3 separate regions of the Homo sapiens genome follow, and regions 2 and 3 are each linked to region 1. Evidence: promoter capture Hi-C in human tissues and cell types (Jung and others, 2019). All regions are on one chromosome and are shown on one strand. The core of a region is centred on a gene start or on the middle of the fragment in contact, and the rest is flanking DNA. Distances in the headings are between cores, read along the strand shown. Region 1 holds the start of ZFP42 (ZFP42 zinc finger protein). Region 2 has its middle 43 kb from the start of ZFP42. Region 3 overlaps LOC124900881 (a long non-coding RNA gene).

Region 1 (4,079 bases), core at 845-3,344:
GCCTACACAAATTCAGGATCATGAAGATGTCACTAGGCCATGGGGATTTTTCAGCTCTTTTATAATCTTATGGGACCACCATAGTACGTGGGGTTGCTCACTGACTGAAACGGCCTTATATGGAACTTGACTGTACATGGAAAACATACTGGTAAAAGCGGATGTGGACGAAATCTTCATATACATTTAGTATTCGTTCTAGGTGCTGAACTTAGGGAAAAAGATGCAAAGTTCCTCGTTAACACAAAGTTTGGTGTGGGACAGACAGTAAAGGGCAAATAAACAAAAAATGTCAGATTGAGAAAAATGCTATTAAAAAAAAGGTCGGGGCGGGGTGGGACCGGGAGCGGTGGCTCACGCTTGTAATCCCACCACTTTGGGAGGCCGAGGCGGGCGGATCACGAGGTCAGGAGATCGAGACCATCCTGGCCAACATGGTGAAACCCTATTAAAAATAAAAAAAATTAGTCGGGCGTGGTGGCGGGCGCCTGTAGTCCCAGCTACTCGGGAGGCCGAGGCAGGAGAATCGCTTGAACCTAGGAGGCGGAGGTTGCAGTGAGCCGAGATCGTGCCACTGCACTCCAGCCCAAGCGACAAGAGCAAAACTCTGTCTCAAAAAAAAAAAAAAAAAAAAAAGAATATGAGAGGGGAAGTAACCGAGGACGCCACCTTCATCATGAATGTCTGGAAAAGGCCCCCAAGGAGGGGGCCATCGGAGCCAGATGTGGGCAGGAGGAAAAGTGCACGGGGGTGGGAAGAGACGAGCGAAGCCTGCTGGTTCCAGGCTGCCGGCGCTCCCCGGGGGCTGCAGGCCATGCTCCATGCTCCACGCTCCATGCTCCATGCTCCACGCTCCACGCTCCATGCTCCATGCTCCCTACAGCTATGGCGGGCAGGAAGGTGGGGGCTGGGGCGAGGCCCAGGCGCGGGGCTGACGGTGAGCCCCGGGACCATTTGCATTTCATCCCAGGTCCCAAGGAAACCATTACAGGGCTTCCAACAAGCAAACAGCAAGTTTTTTTAGGTTAGAAGATGGGCCGGACAGCTGCATGGAGAATGGATTTGGGGAGAACAGAAAAATCTATTAGATTTGGGAATCCCGCGAAGGGCTGCCAGGGGTTTGGAGCAGATGGCGGCAGAGGAGATGAAATGCAGGGAGAGCGGGAAAACAGGAGAAAGAACCACCCCCTCGCCCTGCAGCTCGCCGGTGGATTGGATGAAGAGCGGAAGGGAAACAGGAATCAAGAATGAGTCTCGCCCGGCGCGGTGGCTCACGCCTGTAATCTCAGCACTTTGGGAGGCTGAGGCGGGCGGATCATCTGAGGTCACGAGTTCGAGACCAGCCTGACCAACATGGTGAAACCCCGTCTCTACTAAAATACAAAAATTAGCCGGGCGCAGTGAAGGGCGCCTGTAATCTCAGCTACTTGGGAGGCTGAGGCAGGAGAATCCCTTGAACCCGGGAGACGGAGGTTGCAGTGAGCCGAGATCGCGCCATTGCACTCCAGCCTGGCAACAGAGCGAGACTGTCTCCAAAAAAAAAGAAAAAAGAAAAGAAAGAGTCTCCTAGGTTTTTTGCTAGAGTAATTTGAGTTGGGGGTATTGCCATCTCCAGAGATAAGAGGAGAGGAAAAGAAAGGGAAGAGACTGGTGTCTTGATCACAATGTAAGCATGTTAATATAGAAAAGACTTAGCCAGATATTGTAAGGAAACATATTTACATGAAGTTTTGAAATAAAATAAAAAATGCAATTTAGGAAATCACCGCCAGACACTTGCTTTCTTGAGAGTGTATTACTTGCCCATCTGCCCGTTTTCAACATTTGAGGCCAGTGGCCAGCCACGGGTCACCGCAGGGCGAGGGCTACAAGTCTCCCGGCGAGGCCGGCTCCGGCCTGGTCCCAGGATGAGAACACGCTTCCCCTCCCTGACTATCTAACCCCTTTGACCGACACATTCCAAGTAGTGAGCAACACAACCCCCTTCTCCCCATTTGAAAAAAGTTCCATGAAACAAGACTCACCCCTGTTACCGCGAAGCACTCTGCTATTTCCAATGCCACCTCCTCCCAAACGTAAAACAAAGGAGAAACTGCAGTGGAAACGTGGACTGCCCTGCGCCCCCTCCCAAGACCCACCCTCCGGACTGACGCGGTCTAATCAGGCTACAGCCACCCATCAGCTCCGCCAGGGTTAGGGAGGGCGTGGCCGGCCCCGCCCTGGGGCGCCGCCCTGGAGCCACCTGGCCCGCGCGTTCACTCTCTGCCCGGAGCCGCCTGGCACCTGGGCGGCGCGCTCACCCTCAGCCCGGGGCCCCCAGGCACCCGGCCCGCACGCAAACCCTCAGCCCGGGGCCCCCTGACCCCCGCGTTCACCCCTCAGCCCGGCCGCCGGGCACTGCGCATCCGCCACGTGGCAGCGCCTCCAGAGCCCAGACGCCCGGCGTTGGCACGTGGTGAGCGCTCAATAAATGTCTGTTGAACAAATACGCGTGGGTGTAATCACATTTACCCTTTTAGGCCGGACGCGGTGGCTCACGCCTGTCGTCCCAGCACTTTGGGAGGCCGAGACGGGGGGATCACATGAGGTCAAGCGTTCGAGACCAGCCTGGCCAACATGGCGAAACCCCGTCTCTACCGAAAAATACAAAAATTAGCCAGGCATGGTGGTGCTCGCCTGTAATCCCAGCTACTCAGGAGGCTGAGGCAGGAGAATCGCTTGAACCCGGGATGCGGAGGTTGCAGTGAGCCGAGATCGCGCCACTAAGCTCCAGCCTGGGTGATAGAGCGAGGCTCCATCTCAATAGAACAAAACAAAACATTTACGCTTTTGCAGATCGAGGAAAAAAATCAAGCGGAGGAGGCAGTTTTTACCCCCCGAAATAGAGGTTGACTCGAACGCAAACCCCCACACCTTTCCCACCCCACCCTACCCCCAGTTGTTTCAAACACCCCCAGTGTTTGTTTTCTTTTTTCTTTTTCTGGCCATTAATGTGACTGTATTGCTAAAGGCAACACAACTCACTTTGAAAGCAATGGTCAGTCAACGCTCACTATTGGCTACAGTCTAGTGAAATGTAATAGGTCGTATAAGTACACCCAGACCATTAGAACGAAACCCAGATCGATATTTAAAAACCTCCTAAATGTTGACTTGAAGCTTTTCTGCATATATATCTGGGAGCAGTTCTCCACTTTTTTCTTTTTTTAAATCTGTTTCTGAATAAGCTTCAATTTTGAGGTTGGCCAATAAAATATAATTTTCCTTCCTTCCTTCCTTCCTTCCTTCCTTCCTTCCTTCCTTCCTTCCTTCCTTCCTTTCTTTTCTTTCTCTTTTTTTTTCTTTTTTGAGACGGAGTCTTTCTCTGTCCCCCAGGCTGGAGTGCAGTGGCACCGTCTCACCTCACTGCAACCTCCGCCTATTTGGTTCAAGTGATTCTCCTGCCTCAGCCTCCCCAGTAGCTGGGATTACAGGCATGCACCACCACGCACGGCTAATTTAGTATTTTTAGTAGAGACAGGGTTTCTCCATGTTGGCAGGCTGGTCCGACCTCAGGTGATCCGCCTGTCTCGGCCTCCCAAAGTGTTGGGATTACAGGCGTGAGCCACTGCGCCTGGCCAATAGGATATAATTTTCAATGAAGGAAATATTTATTATTCCCTGATCTCCTCCAGTAGGCATAGCAGGACCTCTCCATTTGAAATCCGATTTCAATAAAGCTTCCTTAGTTCCTTACCTTAGAATGTATTATTTGCAGACGAGGGTCAGAAAGCCGATTTACCAGTCAGAAGGACTTCCCTCAACTTCCCTCCTTCTGTCTCTATGGCGCCTTGCTGTGGCCTCTTTAGAAACTACAGGGGAATTCCACCAGCCTTTTTTTTTGTTTCCCTTGGAGATAAAAATGTTAACATTTGGGTTTCGATAAGAAATACTTCAATGAACCGAAGAATGTTGACCAGAACCTTCTTTGTAAGCCTTTAAGTGGCAATGTCATTGAAAGCCCCTTTCCTCACTAGATGGAAACACACACACTTAGCTCAAGCCGAGGATCCTTTCTTTGGGTTGTCGGAAACCACCCT
Region 2 (3,545 bases), core at 178-2,677, 43 kb before region 1:
ATGGAAAAGAGGTGGAGGAGTGGTAATTTTTCAGGGGGAAGCCTGACAAGCAGTCCTCAGCCAGGCAGTCAAGGTGTTAATTGCATCAGGGAAGAGTCAGGTTGATGGCATGCACCCGGATATGATATGGTAAGAATCATATCATATTCAGGCCGGGCGCGGTGGCTCATGCCTGTAATCCCAGCACTTTGGGAGGCCGAGGCAGGCGGATCACAAGGTCAGGAGTTCGAGACCAGCCTGGCCAACATAGTGATACCCCATCTCTACTAAAAATACAAAAACTAGCTGGGCGTGGTGGTCCACAGCTACTCCAGAGGCTGAGGCAGGAGAATCACTTGAACCCAGGAGGTGGAGGTTACAGTGAGCTGAGGTGGCGCCATTGCACTCCAGCCTGGCGACAGAGCGAGACTCCGTCTCAAAAAAAAAAAAAAAGAATGCTACTTCAGTGTTGTGATATTCTCCCCAATCACCCATAACCTCAGTCTATTCATAAAAACATCAAACCAAGATGGAAGAACTTTGTATAGGGGCCTGGCCAGTACTCCTGAAACTGCCAGGGTTATCAAAATGGGAAGTCTGAGAAATTGTCATAAACTAGAGGAATGTAAGGAGACACATATCTAAATGTAATGTGGGATCCTGATGGCCTCCTGGAACAGAAAAAGGATAGAAGGGAAGACTAGTAAAATGAAATAAAGTGTGGGGTTTAGTCAATAATAATACGTCAGTGTTGGTCTTGAGTTGTAACAAATATACCATCATAATGTACAACGTTAACAATGCAGGAAATTGGGAGTGAGGGTGTGTTATCTTTTCATCTTTGCTGTAAATCTAAAACTTTTCTAAAATTAAAAGTTCATTTAAAATTTAGAAACTATTTTAGGAAAACAGAGAAGGCAATAAAAATAATAAAACAAATTAAGAAACGATCACAGCTTACAAACGAAGAAAAAGAGTTGAGACAGTTTACATCCTGTAGAAGTGAGAGGAAGTGAATATTAAAAGAATAAATGATGCCTTGAGCTTTACTTACACAGTGAGATAGAAGTCCATCTTAAATTAAGAAAAGTTGGCTGGATGCGGTGGCTCACGCCTGTAATCCCAGCACTTTGGGAGGCTGAGGTGGGCAAATCAGGAGGTCCAGCGATCAAGACCATCCTGGCCAACATGGTGAAACCCTGTCTCTACTAAAAATACAAAAAATTAGCCGGGCATGGTGGCACGTGCCTGTAATCCCAGTGACTCATGAGGCTGAGGCAGGAGAGTCGCTTGAACCCAGGAGGCGGAGGTTGCAGTGAACTGAGATCGTGTCACTGCTCTCCAGCCTGGCAACAGAGCGAGACTCTGTCTCAAAAAAAAAAAAGAAAGAAAGAAAAGTCATAGAAAGATTAGAGAATGTGATCTATTTAGAGAAACAGGTCAGAATTGAAAATGCAGCCACATTTTCCTGTTACGAGAACTTTCCAAGAGGTTATGAAACAATGAAGGAGTGTAAACTGATCTCAATTGACCAAAGTTAAGTGAGCAGGCTGGAGCCTGGGTAGCTGGGGGCTTGGTATGAGAGGGAGATTTGCTTTGCATTGTAAATCATTTTGTTTTTCTACTTTTGTAATGGGTGCATGCATGTATTACCTACTCTTAGAAATTAATTAACAGTTGGCTCTGTTTAGAAAAAACAAACATAGCTAAAACCCTACATGTGGGTGAAAATCTGCTTCTCTCAACCAGAAATGACAAGATTAAACCTCGTAAGCTATACAAGCAGTGGCCAGGTAAAGTAAGCTAGAGGGCGGATGCCTTTTCACGCCTGGCAGAATTTTAAAATTGAGGCTACTTCAACATCTGAATCATGCCAAATAATATAACCAGGGTTAAAAAGAAAAACCTGCTACAGTCTAAAATCTTTTTATCATGAGTATTAAATATTAGCAAAACAAAAAGGCAATTTGATAGTATTAATCCCAGCACTTTGGGAGGCCAACGCGAGCAGATCACCTGAGGTCAGGAGTTTGAGACCAGCCTGGCCAACATGGCAAAAACCCATCTCTACTAAAAATACAAAAATTTAGCCGGGCGTGGTGGTGGGTGCCTGTAGTCCCAGCTACTCAGGAGGCTGAGGTAGGAGAATCGCTTGAACCTGGGAGGCGGAGGTTGCAGTGAGCTGAGATCACGCCACTGCACTCCAGCCTGGCTACAGAGTGAGACTCAGTCTCAAAAAAAAAAAAAATTCTTATCATAAACCTCTAACCTCTCATGACTATTAGCCCATGAGAAAAATCAGAAAATCTCGTAGAAATTTAATCAACCTAAAGGTTAAAAGTTTCTTTTCTTTTTTGTTAAGCTTATCTTTTCTTTTTACTTTTTTTCTTTTTTTTTTTTTCTTTTTTTTTTTTTTTTTTTTTTTTGAGACAGGGTCTTGCTGTGTCACCCAGGCTGGAGGGCTTATTGCAGCCTCGACCTTCTGGGCTCAAGCAATCTTCCCACCTTCGCCTCCTGAGTAGCTGAGACTACAGGCATGCGCCACCACATCCACCTAGTATTTTATTTTTTTAAATATATTTTTTACTTTTGTAAAAACAGTCTCTCACTATGTTGCCCAGGCTCATCTCAAACTTCTGGGCTCAAGTAATTGGCCCGCCTCGGCCTCCCAAAGTGCTGAGATTACAGGCATGAGTCATTGCGCTTGGCAAAGTTAAAAGTTGTGCCAGGAAACTTATTTTTGGAGTATTTTGAAGAAAATTTTCGACATTTCATATCATGAAGAACTATTTTATTTATCTAATAGATAAGGAAAATTCGGAAACATGATCACAATGCCATCATCACATCTAAAAAATGTATAATAATTCACTTCAAACGATTTTTTCTATAAATATTTTTACCATTAATTTTTTTTCTTTGTAGCACACTCATGTATTCTTGGAGAGTATAAATTAGTGATTTTCCTGAAGAGGTATGCCTACGAAGCAGGCAACTGGGGTGAGGAGTGGTTGAAGGCACTTCACTACAAACGAAGCCGTCTTTGCTGCTCTAGCCCTCAGTGCTTTGAACTGTAACATCCTCAGTCTTCACAACACAATTTAGCTCTTCATTATGAATTACCTTTTATACTCAATTTATGTTCACTTTGCTCCCCAGCTATAGTAAACATGTTGGAGATAATGAATTCTTTTTTTTTTTTTTGAGACAGAATCTAGCTCTGTCGCCCAGGCTGGAGTGCAATGGCGCAATCTTGGCTCACTGCAACCTCTGCCTCCCGGGTTCAAGCGATTCTCTTGCCTCAGCCTCCCGAGTACCTGGGATTACAGGTGCCTGCCACCACACCCGGCTAATTTTTGTATTTTTATAGAGATGGGTTTTCGCCATGTTGGCCAGGCCGGCCTTGAACTCTTGACCTCAGATGATCCGCCAGCCGTGGCCTCCGAAAGTGCTGGGATTACAGGCATGAGCCACCGTGCCCGGCCGATAACAACTACTTATCAAGCTTTATTTTACACAGAGCTAGAGTCAAGCTCTAGATCATTATTGCCTTCTTTGTAAAAATT
Region 3 (3,757 bases), core at 712-3,211, 42 kb after region 1:
TGCCTATGTCCTGAGTGGTATTGCCTAGGTTTTCTTCTAGGGTTTTTATGGTTTTAGGTCTAACATTTAAGTCTTTACTCCATCTTGAAATAATTTTTGTATAAGCTGTAAGGAAGGGATCCAGTTTCAGCTTTCTACATATGGCTAGCCAGTTTTCCCAGCACCATTTATTAAATAAGGAATCCTTTCCCCATTTCTTGTTTTTGTCAGGTTTGTCAAAGATCAGATGGTTGTAGATGTGTGGTGTTATTTCTGAGGCCTCTGTTCTGTTCCATTGGTCTATCTCTCTGTTTTGGTACCAGTACCAGGCTGTTTTGGTTACTGTAGCCTTGTAGCATAGTTTGAAGTCAGGTAGCGTGATGCCTCCAGCTTTGTTCTTTTGGCTTAGGATTGTCTTGGCAATGTGGGCTCTTTTTTGGTTCCGTATGAACTTTAAAGTAGTTTTTTTCAATTCTGTGAAGAAAGTCATTGGTAGCTTGATGGGGATGGCATTGAATCTATAAATTACCTTGGGCACTATGGCCATTTTCACGATATTGAGTCTTCCTATCCAAGAGCATGGAATGTTCTTCTATTTGTTTGTGTCCTCTTTTATTTCGTTGAGCAGTGGTTTGTAGTGCTCCTTGAAGAAGTCCTTCACATCCCTTGTAAGTTGGATTCCTAGGTATTTTATTCTCTTTATAGCGATTGTGAATGGGAGTTTACTCATGATTTGGCTCCCTGTCTGTTATTGGTGTATAGGAATGCTTGTGATTTTTGCACATTGATTTTGTATCCTGAGACTTTGCTGAAGTTGCTTATCAGCTTAAGGAGATTTTGGGTTGAGACGATGGGGTTTCTAAATACACAATCACCTCTGCATCAAATCTCCTTCTGACTTTCTCTTATAAGGACAACTGTCATTGGATTTAAGATCCACCTGGATAATCCAGGATGATATGATCTTGAAATCCTTAATTGCATCATCAGACTCTTTTCCCAACAAAAGTCACGTCCACAGGTTCTAGCAGTTAGGACATGGACATATCCTCTGAGTGGCCATCATTCAACTCATTACACTTTCTCAGAGGGCCATTATGAGGATTAAATAAAATAGTTCATGTAAAAATGCTTCACATAGTCCCTGAGGTGTAGAGATTTTCCAATAAATAATAGTTATTATTTTTACAGGAGCTCGAAACAAACAAACAAAACTAGCCAGGTGTTGTGGCATATGCCTGTAGTCTCAGCTACTCAGGACGTTGAGGTGGGAGGTAAAAGTAAAAAAATTAAATAGTAAAAGGAAAGGTCCTACCAGAGATTAGAATATGCTGCAAGACAAACATAATTAAAATACTGCAGCATTGGTACAAAAATTAATAAATAAATGAAAGGAAGACAATAGAAAGTCTAGAAGAAAATTGGTATAGACCTATACATTTTGGCAGCTGTTACGCATTATATTTCAAGTCAATAAGGAAAGGTTATGATTGAGACTACTGGTTATCAATTGACACAAACAAAAAATTAAGGGTAGATTCCCACCTCAAACCAGAAAAACTACAGATGAATTATAGAGATAAAAATAGATTACAAAATTATAACAATGTTAAAGGAAATTTCATGAGAATAGAAAATATTTTTAATCTCAACATTGGAAAAATCTATGCTAAACATAGGCTAAGAATTCATAAAGAAAAAAATGACAGATATGTCTATATAAAAATCTAAAGCATCTATGTCAAAAACCCACATGAAAAAGTACAATGAAAAATCATGGGAAAATTATTTACAATACAGCATTAATCTCTATGATAATATCAAGCACATAAAGATCAATAAAAGATAACAAATCTGATAGAAAACATGTAATGACAGAAAATTATACTTAGTATCACATAAAACTAGTTAATAAGGCAGATTAAATTAAGACAAATGTAATTTTTATTCATGAGATGAGGACAAATGAAAAAGACTGATAATATTCAGCATGGAGGAAGAGGTAAGAGAATAGGAACTTTCAAAAACTGATAGTGGGAATTCAAATTTCAGGGCTTTTTTGGTGGGGCATTTGCAAGTATATGTCAGATTTAAATATAATGTAACCTTTCACCCAGTAATTTTACGTATGAGTAGGGAGAAAGAGCACATATTATGTACAAAGGATATTCATTATAGTCACATGTATATACAAAGATTAATGTAAAATAGTATTCTTTAACAGTGAAGAATTGGATTTAACAAAAATATATACTGTCTGAAGGCTGGGGGCGGTGGCTCACTCCTGTAATCCCAGCACTTTGGGAGGCCGAGGCAGGCAGATCACTTGAGGTCAAGAGTTCGAGACCAGCCTGGCCGGCGTGGCGAAACCCCATCTCTACTAAAAATAAAAATTAGCTGGGCATGGTGGCAGAAGCCTGTAATCCCAGCTACTTGGGAGGCTGAGGCAGGAGAATCACTTGAACTTGAGGAAGAGGCTGCAATGAGCTGAGATCATGCCACTGCACTCCAGCTTGGGTGACAGAGCGAGACTCTATCTCAAAAAAAAAATTATGGTACACATGATATGTAATACACCACAGCAATTAAAAAGACCGAGGCAGATATATATGTGTGTGTGTGTGTGTGTGTGTGTGTATAAAATGCATATATATAATGCATATATATATGTATTGACATAAAAAGTTTTCACAGATAAGTGGAAAAAAGGCAGGTCATTTAATAGGATATGATCACATTTTTGGAAAAAGCAGCATTTTATATTTGAACTGTGTGTGTGTGTGTGTGTGTGTGTGTGTGTGCTGATGTCTAGGAAAATGTTTGGAAAGCACAAACAGTGCTCACATATGGTCAGGGAAGTGGAATCGAAAGAAGATATGGAAGGAAAGAAAGTGTAACTGGGTGCTCAAGGAGGTTATTTTAACTTAAAAAAATCTAGACGTTAAATATTTGATATAAATATATATATTATTCTCCCATAGAATGTATTTATATCAAACTATTATGTAAAATACATTTTTAAAAGTGAAAAATCTGTCATGTGAGTTCTTATTGTTTTTGTGATCATTTTTCATGTAACTAGTATCTCCTCAGCATCACTATTTTAGGGCTACCCTTTCTTTTGGGTATTATGTAATCTTAGGTGTAATCTTATGTAATTTTGGGTATTATGTAATCTTAGAGGGGGCATGGGGGAAGCCCATCCCTGACAAAAATTACATCCTTGCTCACAACAGTATAGTATTTAATGAACCACACAGAGTTGGACGTTTTTGCTAGTTTCAACTTTATTGTTATAAAGGACACTTAGCTTGAATGGTGTGGACAAGTCAAAACTACTAAGAACAGAGAGAAAGAAAATGTTCTGGAAGGTGAAGCCACTGTTTGTACACATTGCCTTGCTGTAGGCTTCAGGCATCAGCAAAGGCCGTGGGTCATCCCCACTAGAGAGGGTCAGACAAACCCTATCCCTCTTTTCACGCCATGGACCATCCCACACTTGTTGAAGTTAGAGACCACTAGTCCTAAACACCACTGAGTCAATTACATGAAGAATAAAACTAATATCTAATGATTCAGGATGATTAAGGGACATTTTTATTATTGTCAATGTTTTTACTTGAAAAGGCAGGAAAATGTTTATTTTAGAAAAACATCCGTCCAAAAAGAGGTAAAAATTTAAGCTTCTGACTCTTACATTTTTTAGTTTTAGATATCTATTACAAATTCGTTTTTCCAGCCTGATTTCTATGCTAAGTGCATCAGATATCAAGGTTTT

What was found. Contacts are between HindIII fragments. The study calls those that stand out against the background at their distance.
Region 2: a contact is called between a fragment that was not itself captured here and the fragment with the promoter of ZFP42 in region 1, in 2 of the 25 tissues and cell types used here (pancreas and small bowel).
Region 3: a contact is called between a fragment that was not itself captured here and the fragment with the promoter of ZFP42 in region 1, in 1 of the 25 tissues and cell types used here (pancreas).

What each region holds. Positions count from the first base shown.
Region 1 is chr4:187,993,786-187,997,864 of GRCh38, reverse strand. ZFP42 (ZFP42 zinc finger protein) reads right to left here and starts at 2,094. Exons shown (of 4, transcript NM_174900.5): 1 at 2,025-2,094. RefSeq lists enhancers at 1,036-1,330, 945-1,926, 1,927-2,906. The HindIII fragment of the contact is 6,716 bases long and covers 1-3,473 here.
Region 2 is chr4:188,036,618-188,040,162 of GRCh38, reverse strand. No RefSeq gene overlaps it. Among named protein-coding and RNA genes, the nearest start is that of ZFP42, 43 kb to the right of the region's middle. The HindIII fragment of the contact is 5,516 bases long and covers 1-3,545 here.
Region 3 is chr4:187,951,881-187,955,637 of GRCh38, reverse strand. All of the region lies in intron 2 of LOC124900881 (a long non-coding RNA gene), which reads left to right. Among named protein-coding and RNA genes, the nearest start is that of ZFP42, 42 kb to the left of the region's middle. The HindIII fragment of the contact is 8,612 bases long and covers 1-3,757 here.